Regions from separate parts of the Homo sapiens genome. Here region 1 is linked to region 2. Evidence: promoter capture Hi-C in 16 types of primary human blood cells and fetal thymus (Javierre and others, 2016). All regions are on one chromosome and are shown on one strand. Each heading gives the region's core, a stretch centred on a gene start or on the middle of the fragment in contact. The rest is flanking DNA. Distances are from core to core; before and after follow the strand shown. Region 1 overlaps LOC105378283 (a long non-coding RNA gene). Region 2 holds the start of ZNF22 (zinc finger protein 22).

What was found. The method cuts DNA at HindIII sites, captures the fragments that hold promoters and counts their contacts. A CHiCAGO score of 5 or more calls a contact.
Region 1: a fragment that was not itself captured here is called in contact with the fragment with the promoter of ZNF22 in region 2 in 3 of 17 cell types (erythroblasts, M1 macrophages and megakaryocytes); the score reaches 8.4 in erythroblasts.

The regions. Positions count from the first base shown.
Region 1 is chr10:45,210,283-45,216,839 of GRCh38, forward strand. It overlaps LOC105378283 (a long non-coding RNA gene), which reads right to left. Exons shown (of 6, transcript XR_001747443.2): 3 at 5,375-5,492. Among named protein-coding and RNA genes, the nearest start is that of MIR3156-1, 50 kb to the left of the region's middle. The HindIII fragment of the contact is 204 bases long and covers 1,430-1,633 here.
Region 2 is chr10:44,997,735-45,003,624 of GRCh38, forward strand. ZNF22 (zinc finger protein 22) reads left to right here and starts at 3,189. Exons shown (of 2, transcript NM_006963.5): 1 at 3,189-3,244; 2 at 5,546-5,890. The coding sequence starts at 5,635. It overlaps LOC124902530, which reads left to right. Exons shown (of 3, transcript XM_047426129.1): 3 at 3,046-4,649. The coding sequence ends at 3,675. It overlaps ZNF22-AS1 (ZNF22 antisense RNA 1), which reads right to left and starts at 3,069. Exons shown (of 4, transcript NR_126421.2): 1 at 2,796-3,069; 2 at 2,552-2,682; 3 at 1,583-1,688. RefSeq lists a silencer at 3,229-3,578 and an enhancer at 3,305-3,805. The HindIII fragment of the contact is 6,687 bases long and covers 1-5,339 here.

The DNA.
Region 1 (6,557 bases), core at 282-2,781, 210 kb after region 2:
GGATTTTTCTTAAGAAACCATGCCAGCAATGGGGTAAAATATAAAGTGCTGAAGGGAAAAACACCCTCCAATCTAGAATCCTGTATTCAATGAAATTATCTATCAAATATAAAGAAATACTTTCTCACCAAAATAAAAATTGAAGAGACATAAAATGTGCTAAAAACAAGCTCGTCACAGAGAATAAAAACAATACAGCAGAAAATAGTGTCTACATAAAGGAAGAGTGTTAAAGAATGAATAAAAGTAATATAAAATGGTGTATTGTTCTTATTCTTAATCTAACAGATAACAGATTGTTCAAAATAGTAACAGCAGCAATGTGTTGGTTGATTATAGTTTACGGATAAGTGAAATGAATGTTAGCAGTTCTATAAAGGACAACAGGAAGGAACTGGAAATGTTTGATTTTAAGGCATCTGCACTGGCTCTGAAGTGGCACAGTGTTATTTAAAAGTGAGTTGACATTCATTGTAAATGTATATTGCAAACTCTAGGGCTATCATTAAGAAGTTTTTATTCCTTGCCTTATCCTCCTTCTAAAAAAAATAAATTTTTGGCTGGGCGCAGTGGTTCACGCCTGTAATCCCAGCACTTTGGGAGGCCAAGATGGGTGGATCACGAGGTCAGGAGATCGAGACCATCCTGGCTAATACGGTGAAACCCCGTCTCTACTAAAAATACAAAAAAAATTAGCCACGCATCATGGTGGGCGCCTGTAGTCCCAGCTACTCAGGAGGTTGAGGCAGGAGAATGGTGTGAACCTGGGAGGCGGAGCTTGCAGTGAGCTGAGATCACACCACTGCACTCCAGCCTGGGTGACAGAGCGAGACGCTGTCTCAAAAATATATATAAATAAATAAATACATACATACATTTTTACATGTAAGTTTGCTGAGAGGAGAGAAAATGGAATATGTTTTGAGTAGAGAAAATGAAATCATACAACATGCTCAATTAAAGCCATGGAAAGCAGAAAAAGAGCAGAAGACAAAAAAAAAAAGAACAAGGGCAAGAATAGAAAACACTTATTATGTAGGTATTAATCTAAGCAATATCAATGATCACATTATATGTTGATAACCAAACATATCAATTAAAAGACTATAAAAGACTATCAGGGTGGATTTTTCTAAAAGAAAAAAAACAGGATCTAACGATATGTTATCTATGAGATATCCACTTTAAATATAAAATATAGAAACAAATTAAAAGTAAAGGGATGGAGAAAGATACATGACACTGAACACTAAGCAAAAGAAAGCTGGAGTAGTCATGTTAATTTCAGACAAAGCTGACTTCAAAGCAAGGAAGATTATCAGAAATAAAAGGGGATATTATATAATGATTAAAAGGTAAACTTTCCAAGAAGACACAGTAATCCTTAATGTGTATGCATCCAACAACAGTGTCAAAATAGCAAGACAAAAGCTTACAGAAATGCAAAGAGAAAGAAACAAACCCACTATTATACTTGGAGACTTCAACACTCCATTCTGTTAGTAACTGACAGATCCAGCAGGCAGAAAATCAGTAAGGGCAGAGTTAAAAACACAACACCACCATCAATCAACTGGATATAACTGGCATCTATAGACTACTCCATCCAACACAAAAAAACACATTCTTCTGAAGCTTGCACAGAACATTCATCAACATAGACCACATTCTGGGCCATAAAACACCCCTTAAAGAGAATAGAAATTATATAAGCTCTCAGTCCACACTGGAATTAAACTAGAAATCAAACAGAAAGATAGCTGAAAAATCCCAAAACATCTGGTCATTAACAATGTATTTCTAAATAACACGTCAAAGAAATCTCAAAAAATTTTTTAAAATATTTTAATTAAATGAATATACTACTTATCAGAATTTGTGAAGTGCAGGGGCTGGGCGCAGTGGCTCAAGCCTGTAATCCTAGCACTTTAGGAGGCCAAGGCAGGCAGATCGCGAGGTCAGGAGATCAAGACCATCCTGGCTAACACAGTGAAACCCCATCTCTACTAAAAATACAAAAAATTAGCTGGGCATGGTGGCGGGCGCCTGTAGTCCCAGCTACCTGGGAGGCTGAGGCAGGAGAATGGCATGAACCCGGCAGGCGGAGCTTGCAGTAAGCGGAGATCACGCCACTGGACTCCAGCCTGGGCGACAGAGGGAGACTCCGACTCAAAAAAAAAAAGAAAAAATTGTGAAGTGCAGCAAAATCAATGGTAAAGGAAATTTATAGCATTAAATGCATGTATTACAAAACAAGAAAGTTCTATTAGGTTGGTGCAAAAGTAATGGCTAAACGGCAATTACTTCTGCACCAACCTTATAAAATCAATAATCCAAACTTCTACCCTAGGAAACAAGAAAAATGAGAATGAATTGAACTACAAGTAAACAGAAAAAAAATTAATAAATATTAGGGCAGAAATCAATGATACTTAAAAGGGGAAATCAATAGAGAAAATGTCTGAGTCCAAAATCTGGTTTTTGGAAAAGATCAGTAAAACTGGTAATCCTCTAGGGAGGCTAGCCAAAAAAAAAAAAAAAAGAACTAATTACTAACAACAGAAATGAAAGAAGGGCCATTACTACTGATTTCATGGATGTTAAAGGGATAATAAAGTAACATTATGAACAACTCTATGTCCAAAAATGTTATAACTTAGATAAAATGGACCAACTGCTGGAAAGGCATAATCTACCAAAACTCACACAGGGAGAAATAGATCCTTTTAGTAGGCCTACGTCTATTAAATAAATTGAATCAGAAATATTAATAACCTTCTAAAATAGAAAGCACCATGCCCAGATAGGTTTACTCATGAATTCTATCAAACATTTAAGGAAGAAACTATACCAATTCTCTACAATGCCTTTCAGAAAACAGAAGCAGAGAGAACAATTCCTAACTCATTCTATGAGGTCAGCATTAAGTCAAAGACATTACAAAAAGGAGAAACTACAGAGGAACATCTCTCATGAACATAGATACAAAAATTCTCAACAAAGCATTTGAAATTAATTCAAAAATGTATTAAGAGTATACACAATGACCAAATGGAACTTACTCCAGGTATGCAAAGGTGGTTCAAATTCAAAAATAAAAGCAATCCATCACTTCAAACAGGCGAAAGAAGAAAATCCATATGATTATATCTATAGATGCAGAAAAAGCACTGGACAAAATCCAACACCCATAAAAACTCTTAGCCAACTAGGAATAGAGGAAAATTTTCTCAACTTAATAAAAAAATCTACAAAAAACCTACAATTAATACGATACTTAATGGTAAGGAACTAGTTTCTTTCCTACTATGGTTGGGAACAAAGCAAGGATGTCACCTGTCACAACTTTTAGCCAAAATCATATTGGAAGTCTTAGTTAATGCAGTAAGAAAAAGCAGAAAAATGTATGCAGATAGGGAAGGATGAATTAAAACTGTCTTTATCCACAGATAATATGATGTCTACATAGAAAATCCCAAATCATCAACAAAAAAGAACTGAAACTAATAAACAACTACAGCAAGGTTGCAGGATACAAGGTTATATACAAAGACAACTGCTTTTCTATATAATTAGAATTTTAAATTAAAAACATATCATTTACATTAACACCAAACAAATGAAATAGTAAGATATATAGCTAACAAAATATGTACAAGATCTATATGAGAAAAGTTTCAAAACTAGTATGAAACAAATCAAAGACCTAAATAAACTGTGAGATAGCCCATGTTCATGAATAGGAAGACCCAACATTGTTACAATGTCAGTTCTTCCCAAGTTGATCTACATATCAATTCCAGTCAAAATACCGGAAAGTTTATGGATATCAACAAACTGATCCTAAAATTTACATGGAAAGGCAGAACAGCCAATGCAATATTGAAGAAAATACAATTGCAGCATTGACACTGCCCAACTTCAAAACTTAGAGTATGGTATTGGTGAAACAATAGACAAATAGATCACTGGAATAAAATAGCCCAGAAATAGACCACACTAATACAATCAACTAATCTTTAGCAGAAGTGCAAAGGCAATTCAGTGGGAAAAGGAGTCTTTTCAACAAATGATGCTGAAACAGATGGACATCAACACACACAAAAATCAATCTAGACAAAGACCTAACACCTTTCACAAAAATAAACTCAAATCACAGACCTATTATATAAAACACAAAGCTATCAAAATTTCTAGATATAACAAAGGAGAAAATCTAGTTGACCTGAGATTTGGCAATGACTTCTTAGATACAATACCAAAGGCACAACTTATGAAGGAAAAACTTGATAAGTGGGACTTCATTATATTTAAAAATTTCTGCTCTGTGAAAGATATCATTAGGGAAAAGAAAGACCAACTCAAACAAGGAGAAAATATTCGCAACACACATACCTGATAAAGAACTGGTATCCAAAATATGTAAAGACGACTTAAAACTCAACAACAAAGAACCCAATTAAAAAGTACATAAAAGATCTGAATGAACATCTCACCAGAGAAGATATACATATGGCAAATAAGCATATGAAAAGATGCTCAGCATCATATAGTCACTAGGGAATTGCAAATGGAAACAATGAGATACTACTGCATACCCACTAGAATGGCTAAAATCCAAAACACCACCACCACCAAATGCTGGTGAGGATGTGGAACAACAGAAAATCTCATTCTTTATTGGTAGAATGCAAAATAGTACAGCCACTTGAGATGACAGTTTGATAGTTTCTTCCAAAGCTAAACATAGTCTTATCACATGATCCAGTAATCACATTCCTAGGTATTCACCCAAAATCTGCACAAGAATGTTTACAACAGCTTTATTCATAATTGTCCAAATTTAAAAGCTGCCAAAATGTCATCCAACAGGTGAATGGATAAGCACAGTGTGGTACATCCAGACAACTGAGTATTATTCACTGCTAAAAAGAAATGAGTTATCAAACCACAAAAGGCATGGAGGAATCTTAAATGCATATTGCTAAGCAAAAGTAGCCAATCTGTAAAGACCTTATACTGTATGATTCCAACTATATGACATTCTGGAAAGGGTAAAATTATAGAGACAAAGGCAAACTGTAATATTTCAGTGGTTGTCTGAGATTTAGGAGGTAGATAATGAGGGAGAGGGGATGAAGAGGTAGAGCTGAGAGGATTTTTAGGGCAGTGAAACTGTTCCATATGATACTGTAATGGTGAATACATGATGTTAATTTGTCAAAACCCATAAAACTATACTATATAGAGTGAATCTTGATGTTAGCTATAAACTTTAGTTAATAATAATGCATCAACAGCCAGGCCAACATGGTGAAACCCCGTCTCTACTAAAAATCAAAAAAAAAAATGAGCTGGGCGTGATAGCGCATACCTGTAATCCCAGCTACTTGGGAGGCTGAGGCAGGAGAATCACTGGAACCTGGGAGGCAGAAGTTGTAGTGAGCCGAGATCGCACCATTGCGCTCCAGCCTGGGTGACAGAGCGAGACGCTGTTTCAAAAATAAAAATAAAAACAATAATGCATCAATATTGGTTCAGCAATCATAGCAAATGTAACACACCAATGCAAGATGTTAATATGGAAAACTAGGAAGGGGAGATGGAGGAGAGATGTGAATCTGTACTTCCTGCTCCAGTTCTCTGTAAATCAAAAAGTGCTCTTAAAAAAAAAGCCTATTTTTTTTCAAAGAGGGAGAATGAAGATAGCATATGCATAAAACAATTGTTTTTAGCAATACTGACATTAGTAAAATTAGTATTGTTAATTGTGTGTTGGGTACCAAACACGTGATTGTGAGATGTTCTAATTCTATCATCACCAAAATCTGTGAGAGGCAGGGTTCTGAGAGGAAGGGAGAAGGCCCAGATGAGGCATAGAAGGAGTTAAATAAAAGCTTTGCAGTCTGTTATGTATTTCCATTGGAACTACCAGTATAAGCTCACGATGCTGGCAGTCTCATGACTTAAAGGGAGAGTGATTGGGAAGAGCAGGAGCTCCCAACCTACTAACGTTTCTTGCTTTGAAAATCTGTCAACTTGTACTGTCATATATGCACTTATCTATGTGAATACTTCAGTAAAGCTTTTTGGAGTAGGATTTTTTAAAAACTATGTGTAAGTATTTTCAGAAGATGAAGGTTCCTGTTTCCTTGGTTCAAATGGTATCAAGATAGGTAGGTTGCGTCCCTGAATGCATTCCTAAATTGATACAGAATCATTAGCCCAGACAGGGTAGCTACCATAGCTTCTAGAACATGACCAGATGGCCACAGGCACTCAGCGTGCTCGCTGAATTAGCTGTTCATCTTCTTCTCTTCCACAGGGTATGTGTATATGACTGTCAGAAATGAGTAAGGCGAAACAGGATAAGCTAAGAACACTGCTTCTGAAGTCTGCTGGTGTGGGTTCAAATCTGGGCTCTACCACTTATTTTCTGGGTGACTTTGAGCAAGTTAATGAAGCTCTCTAAATCTGTTTCCTTACCTATTAGATAATAACAATTAAACTGTGAGGTTTGAAAGATTAATCCATACAGAGGGCTTAGCACAATGCCT
Region 2 (5,890 bases), core at 1,939-4,438:
TCCAAAGGATATAGAAAAAGAAATGCATATAGTGAGGTATGAAGGAAAGGGTGCGGAGCTTCCATACTCCTTCCCCTTTGCACCCCCCGACCCCAGGTGGCACCCTCCAGTAACATCCATGTGTTCAGGTATCCAGAAGCTCTCTGAACCCAGTCCTTTGGGAGCTTTTATGGAGACTTTGTAACACAGGCATGATTGATTAATCCATCAGCCATTGGTGATCCACTTCACCTTCAGTTGCCCTCCTCCCCAGATGTTGATGGGGTGGAGCTGAAATTGCCATCCTTCTAATCCTGCTGTGGTCTTTCCAGTGACCAGCCCCATCCTGAAGCTACCCAGGGGCTGCCAGGCATCAGTCAACTCATCAGCATATAAAAAGACATCACTTTGGAGATTCTAAGGATTTTAGAAGTTGTATGTCAGGAAACGGGGAGAAGATCAACTATGTATTTCACAATATCACAGGATAATAACAATTCCTATCTCTTACGGTTGGTGGGAGGTACATTAGTCAACTTTAATGCAATAATACCACCAAGAATCTCAGTGTTACAAGAGCATTTGTTTCTCTAACATTACGTGGGACCGTTGTGGTTACATGTGAGCTTCTGTGGCTCTGCTCCATGTGTCTTATCATCCTGGTTCCTAGACTAAAGGGGCAGCCCCTACTTGGGACATGCTATTCTCAAGGCAGAGGGAAAGAGCAGAGTCCTGGCAGAAACACAATGACTTGAAGTTTCTTCTGGGATGTGATGTACCCCTTGCATCCAGTCACATGCGGTCAGCCAATTCAAATCAGTGGTCAAGTCAACATCAGTGGGACAGGCATGTGGTTCACCAGGAGGCACCGGAGTCACACCACAAAGTGCAGGGACCAAAACCAGAGAAGGTGGAGCAAACCCTCAGGAATAATCATGCCTCAGGAATCTCACGTGAGATCCTCAAATGCTGCAAACAGTGCCTGGCACACAATAAGCACTCAATAAGTGTTAACTATTATTATACTAACAGCTAGGCTGAAGGCATAAAACCCTACCTGCTTTCTCTCCCTGTCTTTTTCCCATTCTCCTTTACCCTCCTCTCCTTCATATATTTTTCTGGCTCTCCCTCCTCTCCATCCTTACTGCCCAGGACTCTGTCCACACTTAGGGACACACACCCCTTTATTTCCTGACTTTCGTCTCTCTCTTTTTAAAAAATCCATCCTCGTTTACCCAATGCTTTAGTTGACATACCTCTGGCCCTTCTATGGCTGGCCCAGTTGTTTTCAGGTATAGGAAAAAGGGATAATCCATCTTTATGTAGACATTAAAGGAGTTAGTTTTAATTAGTAACTACCTTACTAACAAAATGGCTTTTTAAAAATTATCTTTTTATTTTAGTGTACATAGAGCAGACAGTCCCAACGGGTCATGTTTGCTCCTGACGCTTTTCCTAAACCATTTCTAGATCTCTGGCCATTGCCCTTTACCCCAAACTCTCCAACCACCAGCATCAACCAACTTATAACAATTTAATAATAAAAGTAACAACGACTCTCATTTCTTCTGTGTTATACATTGTGCTAAGTGCCTTACATTACCTCATTTAATCACTGCAATAGTCCAGATACTCTCTAGATTGCGAGTGGAGCTTCTTTGTCCAGACCTCATTCAGCTTTGTGCTTTGCCATATGCAGAGACAGCTCCCTACAGAGCAGAAAGCCCCAACTTAAGAGAATGAACCTATGACTTAGTTTAGCCTCCACCAACAAACCACTGTATTACTTCAGGCAGGTCAGCCTCTCTTGCTTCAGTTTACTGATTTGCAAGACAGATATGATAATCTGTGCTTCATGAGACTATGGTGAAGATGAATAACCAGAAGATAAGATGTAAAAGTACTTTGTAAACAATAAGGCATCTTATAAATTCATTCATTCAACAGCTATTTACTGAGTGTCTGTTCCCTGCTGAGCACTGTTTTCAGCACTGCAGACACAATAAAGAACTAAAGAGACAGATCATGAGAGGCATCGGGTGCCACTGCGAGGTCCTTGGCTTTGCTCTAATAAGTTGGGAAGCCTTTGAAGGTTTTGAACAAATGAATGACATGATCTAACTTAGGTTTAAGAGGATTACTCTGGGGCCGTGAATAGACTGTAGGGCAACCCGTCTGGAAGCCAATATAATAATCCAGAAGGTGGATGAAGGTGGCTTGGTGGTTATAGCAGTGGAAGTGTTGAAAGTGGCTTGATAATGAATATATTTTAACGATGAAGCCGACAGAATTTGTGGATAAATCACAGGTGAATTTTGGATGAAAAAAAGAAGAGACAACAGTGACATCAAGGTTTTTGGCTTGAGCAACTGGAAAGATGATGGGATCTTCACCCATCCCTGGGAAGAAGACTGTTGCAAGAACAGGTTAGGTAGATATCAGGAATTCATTTGGGGGGTATGTTAGGTTTGGGATGTCCATTACACATGCAAATGCAGCTCTTGAGTAATCAGTTCGATATACAAGTCTAAAGTTCAATAACATTTATGTCCCACAGTCAGACTGGAGTTACCAATGCGGGAGTCTTCAGCATGCAGCAATAGCATTGGAAGCCAAAAGGCGGAGGAGCTCCCCAGGGAGTGGGGGAACACGGAGGTCAGCTGGTCAGATGACTGAGCACGGCCAGGATGGCTGAGGAGGAGCCTGGAAGGAATAAGAACAAAGAGAGATCATTACTAATGAGCAACAAAAGGGGTGTGTTGAAATCAGACTTTGGAGCCACAAAGAACCATTCCAATTCTGGGTCGTCCGCTTACACACGGTGAACGGAGCACATTTCTTCTCTGAGCCTTGGTTCCTTTCCTGTAAATGGAGTATAACCACTCCCATCTTGCAGGAGCTTTTTGGTGATAATTAAGGTGACTTCGTGAAAAGTACCAGGGTCTCAAAAATCTCAAAATTTGTGGAAAGTATGCAGTTTCTAGGTTGGAGAGGCTAGAGTTTGGTTTCAAAAGCCTCGACCACACACAGGGGCGGTTACAGCTCTTGAGGTCCCGGGGGTCACAGGACGCCTTCCGAGTTGGGGGGAGGAGAAAACAAAACCACAGGAAGAAACGAACAACGCTTTCGGGTGGGCCCGGGACCATAGAGGGTCGCTCCGCCACTTTCCTAGAGCGACCGCGGCGGCGCCAGAGCGCGGCGAGGCCCTCACTTCCGGCGGCGCGGGAGGCGCCCAGCGAGCCAGAGTGGTGGCTGGTCCCGCGCGGTGAGTGGGATTGGGGCACTTGGGGCGCTCGGGGCCTGCGTCGGATACTCGGGTCCGCTCGGGAGCGCGCTGGCCGCAACGAGGGCGGCGCGGGCCCGGGCGATGGCGTGGCTTGCGTCTCCCGCCTCCGGGCAGGGCCTGGCCGCCGGGCGGGGGCGGGAGGGCCACGCGGGCCCAGGGTGGGGCCGCGGCCTGCGCGGCGGGCGGGCCGGGTCAATGAGGAGCGGCCGGCGGAGTGCTGGGAACGGGAGGCTTGGACTGGGGGCCCGGGCGAGGCGCGGCCCGCGGCGGGTGGAACTGGGCGGGTGAGCAGCAGCCCCGGCCCCTTCCGTCGCTCGGAGCGTTCGAGGACTAGATACGTGGAACAAATGCTTAGGCAGCACAGGGCTGCTCTGAGCGGTTTTCAGATTCAGACTCATTGCAACTTCTAACATCTTGATGGTGTTGCCACTTTATCATTACCCTCCCCATTTTACGAGGAAACTGAGGCACATTCCAGTTAGCTGGGTGTGCAAGAACAGCAGCTTCTGTCACTCAGGTTTAACTTCGTGCTTGCCCCTGCTGGGGAGCTATGCAAAGCACGGGTCGCCGCGCTGGACTGAGCAATGGAAGATGTGGCTGCCACTAAGAGTACAGGCTCTGGAGTCAAACTGCTAGGGTCTGGGAACCCGGCCAGTGCCTTCTAGCATTGTGCCCTCGTTTCCTTAACTTAAAACGGAAATAACTGCATAAAGGTGCCAGGAGAATTAAAGAGCTAGCACAGAATCAAGTTACACAGTGTCTGGCACATACTAGTATGATTGCCTCATCCGTAGGTGGATTTGACAGTCTGAGTTTCTGACTAGATCTGACTTCCATTGTATTAAATGCGTGTGCTTTTATGTATAATGACCATTATAGTTATTAAAAAAAAAAAAAAGCAACACCAACACCATGTACCTAACACAATGTCTCCTGTGTGGTAGATGTTCTGTAAATATTTGCTTAAGTTAAGGAGTGGGTAGTCCTAACTGTAATCTTGTGTTATATGCGGCTTACTCTTACGCTGACCATAATTACAGCTGATGTAATTATTAAATATCCAGATAAAGTCCTGGACCTAAAGTCTCAATTATACAATAAGATGAAAGGAAGGCAAGAAAAATTATGTTTTTGTTTTCATTTATTTGCTTTATATGTTTGTATGCAAAGAAACCCAGAATAATTGTTTCTATTTTAAATTCCACATTCTGACACAAGATAATGAAAAATAGTTCCAATAATTTTATTGCTTTTGAAGTTCTAGATTTTCCGACATTGCCACCTATGTGGGGTTTGTAGGGGTTTTTGTTGGTTTGTTTTGGCCGTTATTTTAAATAGCCACAAGTCAGCCTTATAAATAAATAAAATCATTTGAAATTTTGAATTTTGCAGCATTTGGGTATTCTAAAAATTCCATCCTAGTTTTACATGTAAACTCATTTTCTCCCCCCTCTCCTTTTCTTGTGTCCTACCTACCATGCGTTTTCTACTCAGTTTCATTCCACTTTCTGGTAAAAGTTCTTTTGCAGTTTTTCTGTCTCCGAAAACAGTACTTTCGTTTTGGGTTTTCAACAAATTGCTTTCTTGGATCATTAGGATCTATAAAAACCAATAATAAAGCGTGTCTTCATAGACTAAGTAAACCTACCACTCCCTGTAGAGAAGTTTCAATTTTCAAAACACTTTATGCTACAGAATTAGAGCTAAACTGTCATCTAGAGCTATGGAAATCGAATGCTAAATACAGATAAACAGGAATATATCATAAAGTAGTGTAATTTGTCATTTCTTATTCATTTGGATACCTTAGGCAGTTACTAGTTAGTAGAAGTTTAACATGGAACTAAATATTAAAGCATAGTAATGTTCTGTTACACAAATTTTGATTGTCTTTTGGAGTTACTCCATTCCCATTAAGATTTACCTTATCTCCACTTTTTAGTTCTTCAAAATTATGTACTCATTTGGTAATGCTTGGAAGATTTATATTTCACCTGATCACTTTTAATTTGTCTTGTCCCAATAGACAGAAACTCCAGTGGTAAACTCAGTCAAAATTTGGTGATATTTGTTAAGCTTAAACTCTGGAATTGTTAGAATTACTTTGCAAGTATTTCCCCCAAATTTCCCCCCATATTATCTTTGTTTGCATTTATACTTTTTAAATTTAAACATGAATGCAATTTTGGTGGGTTGAAGAGATATTAAAATTGAATAGTTAACAGATATCTGTAATTTTTTTTCTGATCATCTCTAAATTTTTTTTCCTTCTACACACAGAAAATTCTGAGCTGTACACCTCTAGGAAATGAAACACTAGTTCAGAAGAAGCCTGTAAACTCTCTTACAAATACATTTGGTTATTCACCATGAGGTTAGCAAAGCCTAAAGCGGGTATTTCTCGGAGCTCAAGCCAAGGAAAGGCCTATGAGAACAAGCGCAAAACAGGCCGGCAGCGGCAGAAGTGGGGCATGACTATTCGATTTGACTCAAGCTTCAGTAGACTCAGAAGAAGCTTGGATGACAAACCCTATAAATGTACTGAATGTGAAAAGAGTTTCAGTCAGAGTTCAACTCTTTTTCAACACCAGAAGATCCATACTGGAAAGAAATCCCATAAATGTG